Regions from separate parts of the Homo sapiens genome. Here all the other regions are linked to region 2. The links are contacts of gene promoters, found by promoter capture Hi-C in human tissues and cell types (Jung and others, 2019). All regions are on one chromosome and are shown on one strand. Each heading gives the region's core, a stretch centred on a gene start or on the middle of the fragment in contact. The rest is flanking DNA. Distances are from core to core; before and after follow the strand shown.

Region 1 (2,700 bases), core at 30-2,529, 340 kb before region 2:
GCAGCCAGCAAGACTTACTTTTGTGAGCAGCCTCGGCGCACCGGATGTCGTCTTTGCCATCCCCAGTGGGCGCTGGGGCCGCGTCTGGAGAGACGGTGGCTCTGGCCGGCGGGGTGCGGCGCTAAGCCCGACCGCCCCATGCCTGCCCGGGTGAGGCCGACGTGGGCGTGGCACCTCGGGGCAGGGACTCCAGAGCACTCAGCGGCTGCGCGCCCTGCTCTGTCACTGTTGGGCCAGGCGGGTGCCGGCTGCTGGGGAGGAGCCGGAAGGGGCAGCGCAAGGCGGCGGGTGGGAGTGGGCACGGGCCGGGCTTAGCTAGGAGCGGGGCACGGATAGGAGTGGCGCACGCGTAGGAGCGGGGCGCGGGCAGGTACAGAACGCGGGCAGCAGGACGCGGAGGGGAGCGGGGCGCGGGCTGGCAGAGGTCAGAACAGGACGCGGTAGCAGCGGGGCTCCACTAAGCAGGGATAGGAGCGTGGGGCGGTAGCTGCCAGACAGGCGGGTGCTGGAAAGGCCACCAGTATCCTGGGTCAGCGCACCTCTGCAAGCACAGCCGCTCCTTTCAAACAGGTGCGCCCTTTCCACTGCACAGCGGGCAAGGAAACCAGGTGGGGATGCAAGATCTGGTACTGCTGGGGTTGCTGGGGTTGCGACCCAGAGGACTCTGAGAACAACACCCTCTCCCCAACCCCCCATCCCTACCCCAGCTCCAGGCTCCCCAGCAGCGCACCCCCGCAGCGCACCCCCAGCCATTTCTCAGAGGCAGAGGCACAGTGTAGCTGGGCCTCTGCATGGCCAAAGGTGGGAGGAGGGGAGGAGCTGGTTAGGGAGAGGGAAGGAGAGCCTTCGTCAGCATCCAGGGCAGTGCAGAGGGTGGGGGTCCTGGAGGCCTGGCCAAGAAGAAATGTAACCAGTTGTGGAAAAACAGGAGTTAGAGAGCAGGGAGGCAAAGGCGTTGGTCAACAGACACCAGGTGGCTGAGGCACTCCGGAGGGCTGAGGGGCAGGCCTCTCACTATCAGGCCCAGAGCTCTAGCTCGTAAGTTTCAGCTCCCTACTGTTCTCTGGGAGGTTTCCCAAGAAAACTCCACTGAGACAAATGTAACTTTCTTTAAGGCTGGGATGATCAATTTCTATGTTTATTCAAAGCCGCAGCAAACTTTTTCTATGGGAGAATTTGGCCACTTTCAGCCTCATGGGGGGGAGTGTGGAGGGGGTGGCCTTCCCCCTTCTACACAGGGGAAGTGGGATGTGGGACTGGCAGCCTAGGAGAGCCAGCAGCAGAGAGGAACTGGAGCCCCAAAGAATCCAATTTTCCCCCAAATAAATGATGCCCAGGATCACATTCACCTCTAATAACGGGAAGCCACTGGACCTGTGCTGGGGGGTCCTGGGGTGAGCCTACGACCCGGGGCTTATACCCAGCGCCTAGGACCCGGGGCTTACACCCAGAGCCTAGGACCCGGGGCTTACACCCACAGCCTAGGACCCGGGGCTTACACCCAGAGCCTAGGACCCGGGGCTTACACCCAGAGCCTAGGACCCGGGGCTTACACCCAGAGCCTAGGACCCGGGGCTTACACCCAGAGCCTAGGACCCGGGGCTTACACCCAGAGCCTAGGACTTGGGGCTTATACCCAGAGCCTAGGACCCGGGGCTTATACCCAGAGCCTAGGACCCGGGGCTTATACCCAGAGCCTAGGATTTGGGGCTTATACCCAGAGCCTAGGACTTGGGGCTTATACACAGAGCCAAGGACGTGGGGCTTATACCCAGAGCCTAGGAAACAAAGCTTATACCCAGAGCCTAGGATATGGAGCTTATACCCAAAGACTAAAACACAAGGCTTATACCCAGAGCCGAGGACACAAGGCTTATATCCAGAGTTTAGGACCCGGGTCTTATACACGGAGCCTAGGACATTGGGCTTGTACTCAGAGCCTAGGACATGTAGCTTATATCCAGAGCCTAGGAAACACAAGTCTTATACCCAGAAAAAACGTGAGGCTTATACCCAGAGCCTAGGACCCAGGGCTTATACACTACTTATATTCTACTTTTAGTAGAGACGGAGTTTCACCATGTTGGCCAGGCTGGTCTTGAACTCCTGACCTCACATGATCCACCCGCCTCGGCCTCCCAAATGCTGGGATTACAGGCATGAGCCACTGTGCCTGGCCTAGAACTGCAAAATTTAATTCAAGAAAATATAGGTCCTATGAAAGATTTAAGTTTTATAAAGCTAAAATCTAGTGTTTTCTGGTAAATTGCACTTTAGCCAAAACTCTCCCAATGCTTCTAAAATAATACTAAAAGGGGCATCTGGTAATACAGGAGCAATTTTTTTTTTTTTTTTTTTTTTTGAGATGGAGTCTCACTCTGTCGCCCAGGCTGGAGTGCAGTGGCATGATCTCAGCTCACTGCAACCTCTGCCACCCGGGTTTAAGTGATTCTTCTGCCTCAGCCTCCTGAGTAGCTGGGATTACAGGTGCCCACCACCATGGCCAACTAATCTTTGTATTTTTAGTAGAGACGAGGTTTCACCATGCTGGCCAGGCTGGTCTCAAACTCCTGACCTCAGGTGATCCACCAGCCTCAGCCTCCCAAAATGCTGGGATTACAGGCATGAGCCACTGTACCCAGCCATACAGTACAGAAGCAAGTTTAAAAATTAAATATTTATTTGAATAACAAGCTTACA
Region 2 (2,700 bases), core at 71-2,570:
GCTGCTCTGGTTACAGGACCTCAAAACTGCAAAGGTAACGGGAAGACAACTGGCACCTCCTGTTGTGCTAGGCAGTGCCATGCTCTTTACATGTGTGCGGTCCTTTAATCCTCACACAGCCCTGCAGAGCCAATACTGTCATAACTGGCTCAGTGACGGAAAGGCTGCGGTCGGACAGATGCAGGGGTCTCTGCTCACATAATTACGGAGGACTCCTGCCCAGGTCGAACGCTAGTCCACGCTTTCTATTATATTCCTGTTTTCCCCTTTCAACACCAAGTCTGAAAAATCCCCAAAAGTACAAGTTGTGGCCACTAAATTCCAGAATCTTATGGCACCTGACGGACTTAAGAAACATGAAGGAAATGAGGTGTCATTCACGAGGAGGAGATCCAGTCATGTGTTCTGTGAGAAGACTTACAGGGACACATCTCAAGTGCCCCACGAATGGAGGCAGTCAAATCGCTTTCCCCATTCTGCTTTAGTGAGAAACAAAATTAGCTAAGGTGTGGGCCAAGCTCGCATCTTTCACGTAGGGCCAATACAGCTGCACAGGAAATGGACTAATGCGTGTATAAGGAGTGTCTAGTACGTGCCAGGCAGTGACCAGCCAGGCAGAGCACGGAGCTTCTGTCTGGTGGGTTCTGCTGGTGGCCTGCGAAGGATGGGGGGAAGTGTTAAGGAGGAAGGGTAGGGTCTGAGGCTATATGGATGTGATGAGGAAGGCAGAGACCAGAGAAACGGAATACACGTCCTCAGGGATCAGAGACAAATTGAGAAACACAAATCCATGGTGAGAGGTCAGCGGAGTCAGAGACCCGCATGCAGATAGAGGGAGGCTGGTGGAGAAACACAGACACAACGAAACACATAACGAGAGAGACTAGCAAAGAGGGGATCAGAAACTCACAAAGGGAAGTCAATGGAGAAATACGGACCCACGGGCCGGGGGGAAGGTGCTGGGGGAAGGACGAGTGCCGCGGAAAGGGAGAGGGGGCGGGGGAGGCAGAGACCCACAGGGACAGACAGAAACCGGAACAGAGCGCCAGGGACCCACAGGGAGAACCACACGCCCTCACAGAAACCCGCAGACATGGAGACGTGATGGCCTCGGGTTCCCAGATTCCGCCGGCGGCCGAGAAGGGAGCGGCGCCCGGGAGGACGGGGCCCGGGCCCACCGCCGCCGCTCACCTGCCGTCCTCCCAGGGCAGCTGCGCCGCTTTCCTCCGCGAGGGGAACATCGTGCGGAGAGGCGGCGGCGCATGGGGCAGGCGCTCGCAGCCCGGCCGGCCCGGCCTCCCGGGCCTACGCGGCGCCTCCGCCTCCCGCTCCGCCCAGGCCTGTCCGCCCCGCCCCCCGGTCCGCCGGGTCCGCCGCTCCGGCCGCGCCGCCAGCTCCCGGAGCCGCCGCCTCCAAGGTTCTGCTTGCGAGCAGCGCGGGCGCGCCTCCCTCTCTGGGCGGCTCCTTCCTAGCCGCCCCGGGACCCGCCTGGAAGCCCGAGAAACTGAAGCCCAGAGGCCCAGGGCCTCCCAACAAATCACTGGGCTGGGACTGGACCTAAGAGTCCAGACTCCCAAACCAACGCTCGGGGAGAATCTGCATCTCCGTCCTCTTTCCGAGGGGAGGCGGGAGCGTCCCGGGGTCCCCGTCTCGGCCCAGGCGGCGCGTTCTCCGCGCAAGCTTGGAGGGGCAAAGCCAAGCTCACGGCTCGGCGCTGAGTTCAGCTGACAGCCCGCGCAGGCGTTAGGAGCCGAGCCCTGAAGACAAGTTGACTGAATTTGAAACCCGACTCTGCTTGCCGGGCGCGGTGGCTCACGCCTGTAATCCCAGCACTTTGGGAGGCCGAGGCGGGCGGATCACGAGGTCAGGAGAGCGAGACCATCCTGGCTAACACGGTGAAACCCCGTCTCTACTAAAAATACAAAAAATTAGCCGGGCGTGGTGGCGGGCGCCTGTTAGTCCCAGCTACTCGGGAGGCTGAGGCAGGAGCATGGTGTGAACCCAGGAGGCGGAGCTTGCAGTGAGTCGAGATCGCACCACTGCACTCCAGCCTGGGTGACAGGGCGAGACTCCGTCAAAAAAAAAAGAAAAGAAAAAGAAAAAGAAACTAGACTCTGCCAATTCAGCTGTGTTTTGACCAAGCCACATCTCTGCATCTGTTTCCTCACCTGGGTATATCAATGGCTCCTATTCTATATGGTAGCTGTGGGGATTCAAGGAGAAAGTGCAAACACTTGTGCAGCGCTAGGCACACAGTTCAACGCCATATAAATGACAGCTGTCATCCAGGAAAAGGGTACTTTGGTGGAGCTGAGAACTGAAGAAGGGAATAGGAGACTGAGTTCCCATATCTGCCCCGTCACCGTGGGAACTTAACCATCCCCCTCACCCCCAGCCCCCCCACCCCTCCTACTAGCCTCCTACCTGGGGAAAGAAAGCGGCAATTGTTAGACTTGACCTCCTCTGCTCTTCCAGGCAAACTTTTAAGTTTCCTAATAGATAGCAAACATCTATTAAGTTCTTATTATGTGCCAGTCATTGTTAATAGTTCTTACTACATGAGGGTTATCTCACGTAGTCCTTATCGGTAGGTGCTTATCCCCAAGTTAAAATTGAGAGAACTGAGGCACAGAGAGGCAAATCAGGTAGTTTGGTTGCAAATCTATGGGTTTGGGGTTTTTGTTTTGTTCTTCCCCACAA
Region 3 (2,700 bases), core at 200-2,699, 380 kb before region 2:
ACACCCAGGGAGAAATGAGCTCCCACGTGCTCTGTGTCTCTTTCACACACACACACACCCAGGGAGAAATGAGCTCCCACGTGCTCTGTCTTTCACACACACACACACACACACCCAGGGAGAAATGAGCTCCCACATGCTCTGTGTCTCTGTCTTTCACACACACACACACACACACACACACACACACACACACCCAGGGAGAAATGAGCTCCCACGTGCTCTGTGTCTGTCTTTCACACACACACACACACACACACACACACACACACACCCAGGGAGAAATGAGCTCCCACGTGCTCTGTGTCTCTGTCTTTCTCACACACACACACACACACACACACACACACCCAGGGAGAAATGAGCTCCCACGTGCTGTGTCTCTGTCTTTCACACACACACACACACACACACACACCCAGGGAGAAATGAGCTCCCACGTGCTCTGTGTCTCTGTCTTTCACACACACACACACACCCCCAGGGAGAAATGAGCTCCCACGTGCTCTGTCTCTGTCTTTCACACACACACACACACACCCAGGGAGAAATGAGCTCCCACGTGCTCTGTGTCTCTTTCACACACACACACACACACACACACACACACACACACCCAGGGAGAAATGAGCTCCCACGTGCTCTGTGTCTCTGTCTTTCACACACACACACACACACACACCCAGGGAGAAATGAGCTCCCACGTGCTCTGTGTCTCTGTCTTTCACACACACAAACACACACACCCAGGGAGAAATGAGCTCCCACGTGCTCTGTGTCTCTGTCTTTCACACACACACACACACACACACACCCAGGGAGAAATGAGCTCCCACGTGCTCTGTGTCTGTCTTTCACACACACACACACACACACCCAGGGAGAAATGAGCTCCCACGTGCTCTGTGTCTCTGTCTTTCACACACACACACACACCCAGGGAGAAATGAGCTCCCACGTGCTCTGTGTCTGTCTTTCACACACACACACACACACACACACACACCCAGGGAGAAATGAGCTCCCACGTGCTCTGTGTCTCTTTCACACACACACACACACACACACACACACACACACACACACACACACACACACACACGGCTGCAGGTGAGTTGTTTCTAGAACCAGAGCTTATATGAAGAGAAAAATAGAAGGGACAGAACAGTGTGTTCCCAGATCACACCTGCAGTTCCCACAGGCTGGGGTGGGGGTCTGGGGCCCGGCTCTGCTGGCTCAGTCACTTTGCTTCTCCTCAAGTTCCCTCTGTGGAACTGGGCGCTGTTTCCACCAAACCGTCTGCTCTCCAGTCCCACAGGGGCTGCTGTCAGTCACCCTACGGCCTCTCTGCCTAGGCTTTGAAACTGATTCATTGTTCTTTTGCTGTATTTTTCTTTGTAGGTTTCAGAATTCTCTGTTTATTTATGATAATTTGGGAAGGATCCTGGGAGAGTGAAAATAAATGAAGTGCGCAATCTGCCAAGTTTCACTGGAGGCTCCACTGATCCTTCCACCATGCTCAAATGCCTGCAGGAAATCTGGGGAATCATCTTTCCTACCCTAAGACCCTGGGACTTAGCACTGGCCCTGAGGCCCCTGACAGGCATAAACTAATCAGCAAATGTGCAGGAAAAATGCGGAGCTGCAAGATCAAAGTCAGATTCCCACTCTCCCTAAAGGCCTGGATTCCCCTGGAAACCCACATCCTCACTGCCTGGAAGGAGCGATGAGGACCCAGGGGAGTGGCTCTGGGCATCAACTGGTCCAGGCAGGAGGCGGTTCCCCATGTCCCATCTTTCCAGCACCGAAGGGAGCCTCTCAGGGGAGTCTCATCACCTCCCGCCCCACCATCACAGAGCAGCCTGCTCCTGGCCTGTATTCAAACACCCCTGGGGGCGGCCGCCCTGGGCGTGCTCCCCTTTCCCTGATGGCCGCTAGAACTCCGTGAGGAGAGGCTCGCCAGGGTCACCCAGACAGTCCCTGATCCCACATTGTCCCGACACATGAGGCTTCACCCCGGAGGAAATAGGAAAAGGGAGTGAATCCCATGGGCTCCCCTCACAAAAGGAAAGCCACGTGCTGTCACTTGGGTGCAAGATGGGCTATGAGGCTGGAGAAAGTCTCCCAGGGACGCCTCCTGGAGTCTTTTTTTTTCCTTTGCTACTGTGAATAGTGCTGCAATAAACATATCTGTGCCTGTGTCTTTATAACAACAATTTATTTTCCTTTGGGTATATACCCAGTAATGGGATTGCAGGGTGGAATGGTATTTCTGTATTTATATCTTTGAGAAATCACCACACTGTCTTCCACAATGGTTGAACTAATTTACACTCCTGCCAACGGTGTATAAGCATTCCTTTTTCTCCAAAACCTCGCCACCATCTGTTATTTTTTTATTTTTTAATAATAGCCATTCTGACTGATACGATATGGTATCTCATTGTGGTTTTGATTTGCATTTCTTTAATGATCAGTAATATCGAGCTTTTCTTTTCTTTTCTTTTTTAAAGACAGAGTCTCGCTCTGTTTCACCCAGGCTGGAGCGCAGTGGTGCCATCTTGGCTCACTGCAACCCCCGCCTCCCGGTTCAAGCAGTTCTCCTGCCTCACCCTCCCGAGTAGCTGGGATTACAGACATGCATCACCACACTTAGCTAATTTTTGTATTTTTAGTAGAGACGGGTTGGGGGGGCGGGTT
Region 4 (2,700 bases), core at 185-2,684, 360 kb before region 2:
GCCATGGCCATCGTTCCCTCTGCCAGCTCCCTCCTCAATGTCAGCCATGGCCATCGTTCCCTCTGCCACGCTCCCTCCTCAGTGTCACCATGGCCATCGTTCCCTCTGCCACGCTCCCTCCTCAGTGTCACCATGGCCATCGTTCCCTCTGCCACGCTCCCTCCTCAGTGTCACCATGGCCATCGTTCCCTCTGCCACGCTCCCTCCTCAGTGTCACCATGGCCATCGTTCCCTCTGCCACGCTCCCTCCTCAATATCACCACGGCCATCATTCCCTCTGCCACGCTCCCTCCTCAGTTTCACCATGGCCATCATTCCCTCTGCCACGCTCCCTCTTCAGTGTCACCACGGCCATCATTCCCTCTGCCAGCTCCTTCCTCAATGTCAGCCATGGCCATCGTTCCCTCTGCCACGCTCCCTCCTCAGTGTCACCACGGCCATCATTCCCTCTGCCACGCTCCCTCCTCAGTGTCACCACGGCCATCATTCCCTCTGCCACGCTCCCTCCTCAGTGTCACCATGGCCATCATTCCACCTCCAGGTGAGTCAGCATTGGCACCATTGAGGACAGATGATAATCATTTTCCACAACAATGACAATCACAACCAATCTCACCGGCCAGTGTGTTGTGGCCACCGCCAGATCCCCAGGGAGGCCTCACAATGGGGACTCTTCCATGGGGACCGGCCATCTGCCTGCTCCACGTCTTCTCATTTGCTTTTCTTAAGCTTCTCACATCTCTCCAATAGCCAGAGAGAGTACCGCGCACCAAAGGGTTAGCTATGAGGCCTGACCCAAGACAGGAGGAAAAGTGGTTCAAAAGTTCTAGCACACTAGGGTGTTCCTCTCCATTGTGGGTGACTTCGCTTGTTCCTGACACACTTCACACCCATGGCGTCTGTGTCTGGGAGGCTGTTCAGATCCACGGCTGCTGCTGAGGGTGCTCCGCATACTTCACAGGACTTCATTTTCTTTCCCCAGAAACACTCTGAAGTCACACAGTGAGTGGCGCACCTCATCACTGACGCTAAATCCCGACTCCTCTTGCTCCTCTTGACAGTCTCGAGGTCTTGCCATTCACGGCCTCAGAAAGCCGGCACAGCCGTCTCAGGCCAGGCCTGTTTTCTCCTGCAGTACGTTCTCGTGTTTTTATTTTTCCTTTTTTTGAGACAGAGTCCTCGCTCTGTCACCCAGGCTGGAGTGCAGTGGCGTGATCTCGGCTCACTCCGAGCTCCGCCTCCCGGGTTCACGCCATTCTCCTGCCTCAGCCTCCCGAGTAGCTGGGACTACAGGCGCGCGCCACCACGCCCAGCTAGTTTTTTGTATTTTTAGTAGAGACGGGGTTTCACCGTGTTAGCCAGGATGGTCTCCATCTCCTGACCTCATGATCCGCCTGCCTCAGCCTCCCAAACTGCTGGGATTACAGGCGTGAGCCACCGCGCCCAGCCAAATAAATCTTTAAGAGATTTTGAAGAGTCTTCACAAATTTTATGTCAATGTGGATATAGCTAATGACTCACATACATTAGCATACATATTTTTGATAATTCAATAAATTTTATTCCCAAGTACGTACAGATTTTATTTCCAAGATGATGATAAGAAAATTGGAAGATGGGAAATACTTTTTAGCAACATGGTTTTTCACTTGTGTATCTGCTAAAATCCTGGGGTGTCACATAGACACGCTAAACCTCGTCTCTACTAAAAACACAAAAAATTAGCTGGGCGTGGTGGCGGGTGCCTGTAGTCCCAGCTACTCAGGAGGCTGAGGCAGGAGAATGGCGTGAACCTGGGAGGCAGAGCTTGCAGTGAGCCAAGATCACGCCACTGCACTCCAGCCTGGGCAACAGAGTGAGACTCTGTCCCAAAAAAAAAAAAAAAAGGAGGAGGGGAATGAAAGGAGATGAAAGAGGAGATAAATTACATTCAGATGGTGGCCTCTTCTGTCGGCATTAAATTGGCCAAATGACCTTCAGGGTGTCCAGAGCAGCAGCGGTGATGGGGCAGCCATGGGAAGGAAAGGGGAGAGTTAGAGTCGAGGGGCCATTTGGGCCCCGCTGTCCTGGGGCTGTGACGCCAACCCCAGAGGCTCTAGTGTGCTCATCTCTAGAGTCCTCTCCACAGCCTGGATCACTTCCTCCCTACAGCGAGGGAGGGGCCTCTGATTTCCCACATGCTTTCCCAGCCTTCAAATTCCATAACCCTCAAATTCCCCAGGGAGGGGAGGCCCGTGTCATCCCCTTTCCCCAGGAGGCGGCCACTGTCTCCATGATGCTCTGTGCCTGGCACAGACTTCCCTCTCTGCTCTAACCGTTAGGGCCTGATTTTGTTCTCCTGATTGATGCCCGTTTCCTTTCTCCATGTCAACCTCCACCAGTGCTACTGGTCTCCAATAGAACAACATTGGAAAGAAGGGCACTGCCAGTCCTTCCAGTAAATCCATGGATCCCACCCTAGGTCAGGGACATGGCCACAGGCCTGGGTTGTGTTGGGATCTGTGAGAGATGATGATGACCAAAGCCTGGGATGACCCTGGAAATGTAAACTATTCAAGCCTAACAAGAATCCCACTAGCATCTCAATGATTGGCAAGGACAGAACGGGATTCCAGGGAAAGCCCGTTTTCCCATTGCCTTAATCCGCAGGTGAAGCCGTGGTTGTTAGCATATGAACGAAGGGGCCCTGCCAGGGTTTGC

The links. Contacts are between HindIII fragments. The study calls those that stand out against the background at their distance.
Region 1: a fragment that was not itself captured here is called in contact with the fragment with the promoter of B4GALT7 in region 2 in 1 of the 25 tissues and cell types used here (IMR-90 fibroblasts).
Region 3: a contact is called between a fragment that was not itself captured here and the fragment with the promoter of B4GALT7 in region 2, in 2 of the 25 tissues and cell types used here (dorsolateral prefrontal cortex and thymus).
Region 4: a contact is called between a fragment that was not itself captured here and the fragment with the promoter of B4GALT7 in region 2, in 1 of the 25 tissues and cell types used here (aorta).

Annotation. Positions count from the first base shown.
Region 1 is chr5:177,937,085-177,939,784 of GRCh38, reverse strand. LOC124901146 (a long non-coding RNA gene) reads left to right here and starts at 315. Exons shown (of 3, transcript XR_007059075.1): 1 at 315-370. LOC100128340 (a long non-coding RNA gene) reads right to left here and starts at 258. Exons shown (of 4, transcript NR_149047.1): 1 at 19-258. RefSeq lists an enhancer at 1-237. The HindIII fragment of the contact is 7,499 bases long and covers 1-2,700 here.
Region 2 is chr5:177,598,752-177,601,451 of GRCh38, reverse strand. B4GALT7 (beta-1,4-galactosyltransferase 7) reads right to left here and starts at 1,320. Exons shown (of 6, transcript NM_007255.3): 1 at 1,192-1,320. The coding sequence starts at 1,241. RefSeq lists a silencer at 968-1,507 and enhancers at 1,688-1,867, 2,068-2,167. The HindIII fragment of the contact is 7,199 bases long and covers 1-2,700 here.
Region 3 is chr5:177,977,205-177,979,904 of GRCh38, reverse strand. No RefSeq gene overlaps it. Among named protein-coding and RNA genes, the nearest start is that of PROP1, 18 kb to the left of the region's middle. The HindIII fragment of the contact is 5,363 bases long and covers 1-2,700 here.
Region 4 is chr5:177,958,993-177,961,692 of GRCh38, reverse strand. It overlaps LOC100128340 (a long non-coding RNA gene), which reads right to left. Exons shown (of 4, transcript NR_149047.1): 4 at 1,893-1,974. Among named protein-coding and RNA genes, the nearest start is that of PROP1, 36 kb to the left of the region's middle. The HindIII fragment of the contact is 6,748 bases long and covers 1-2,700 here.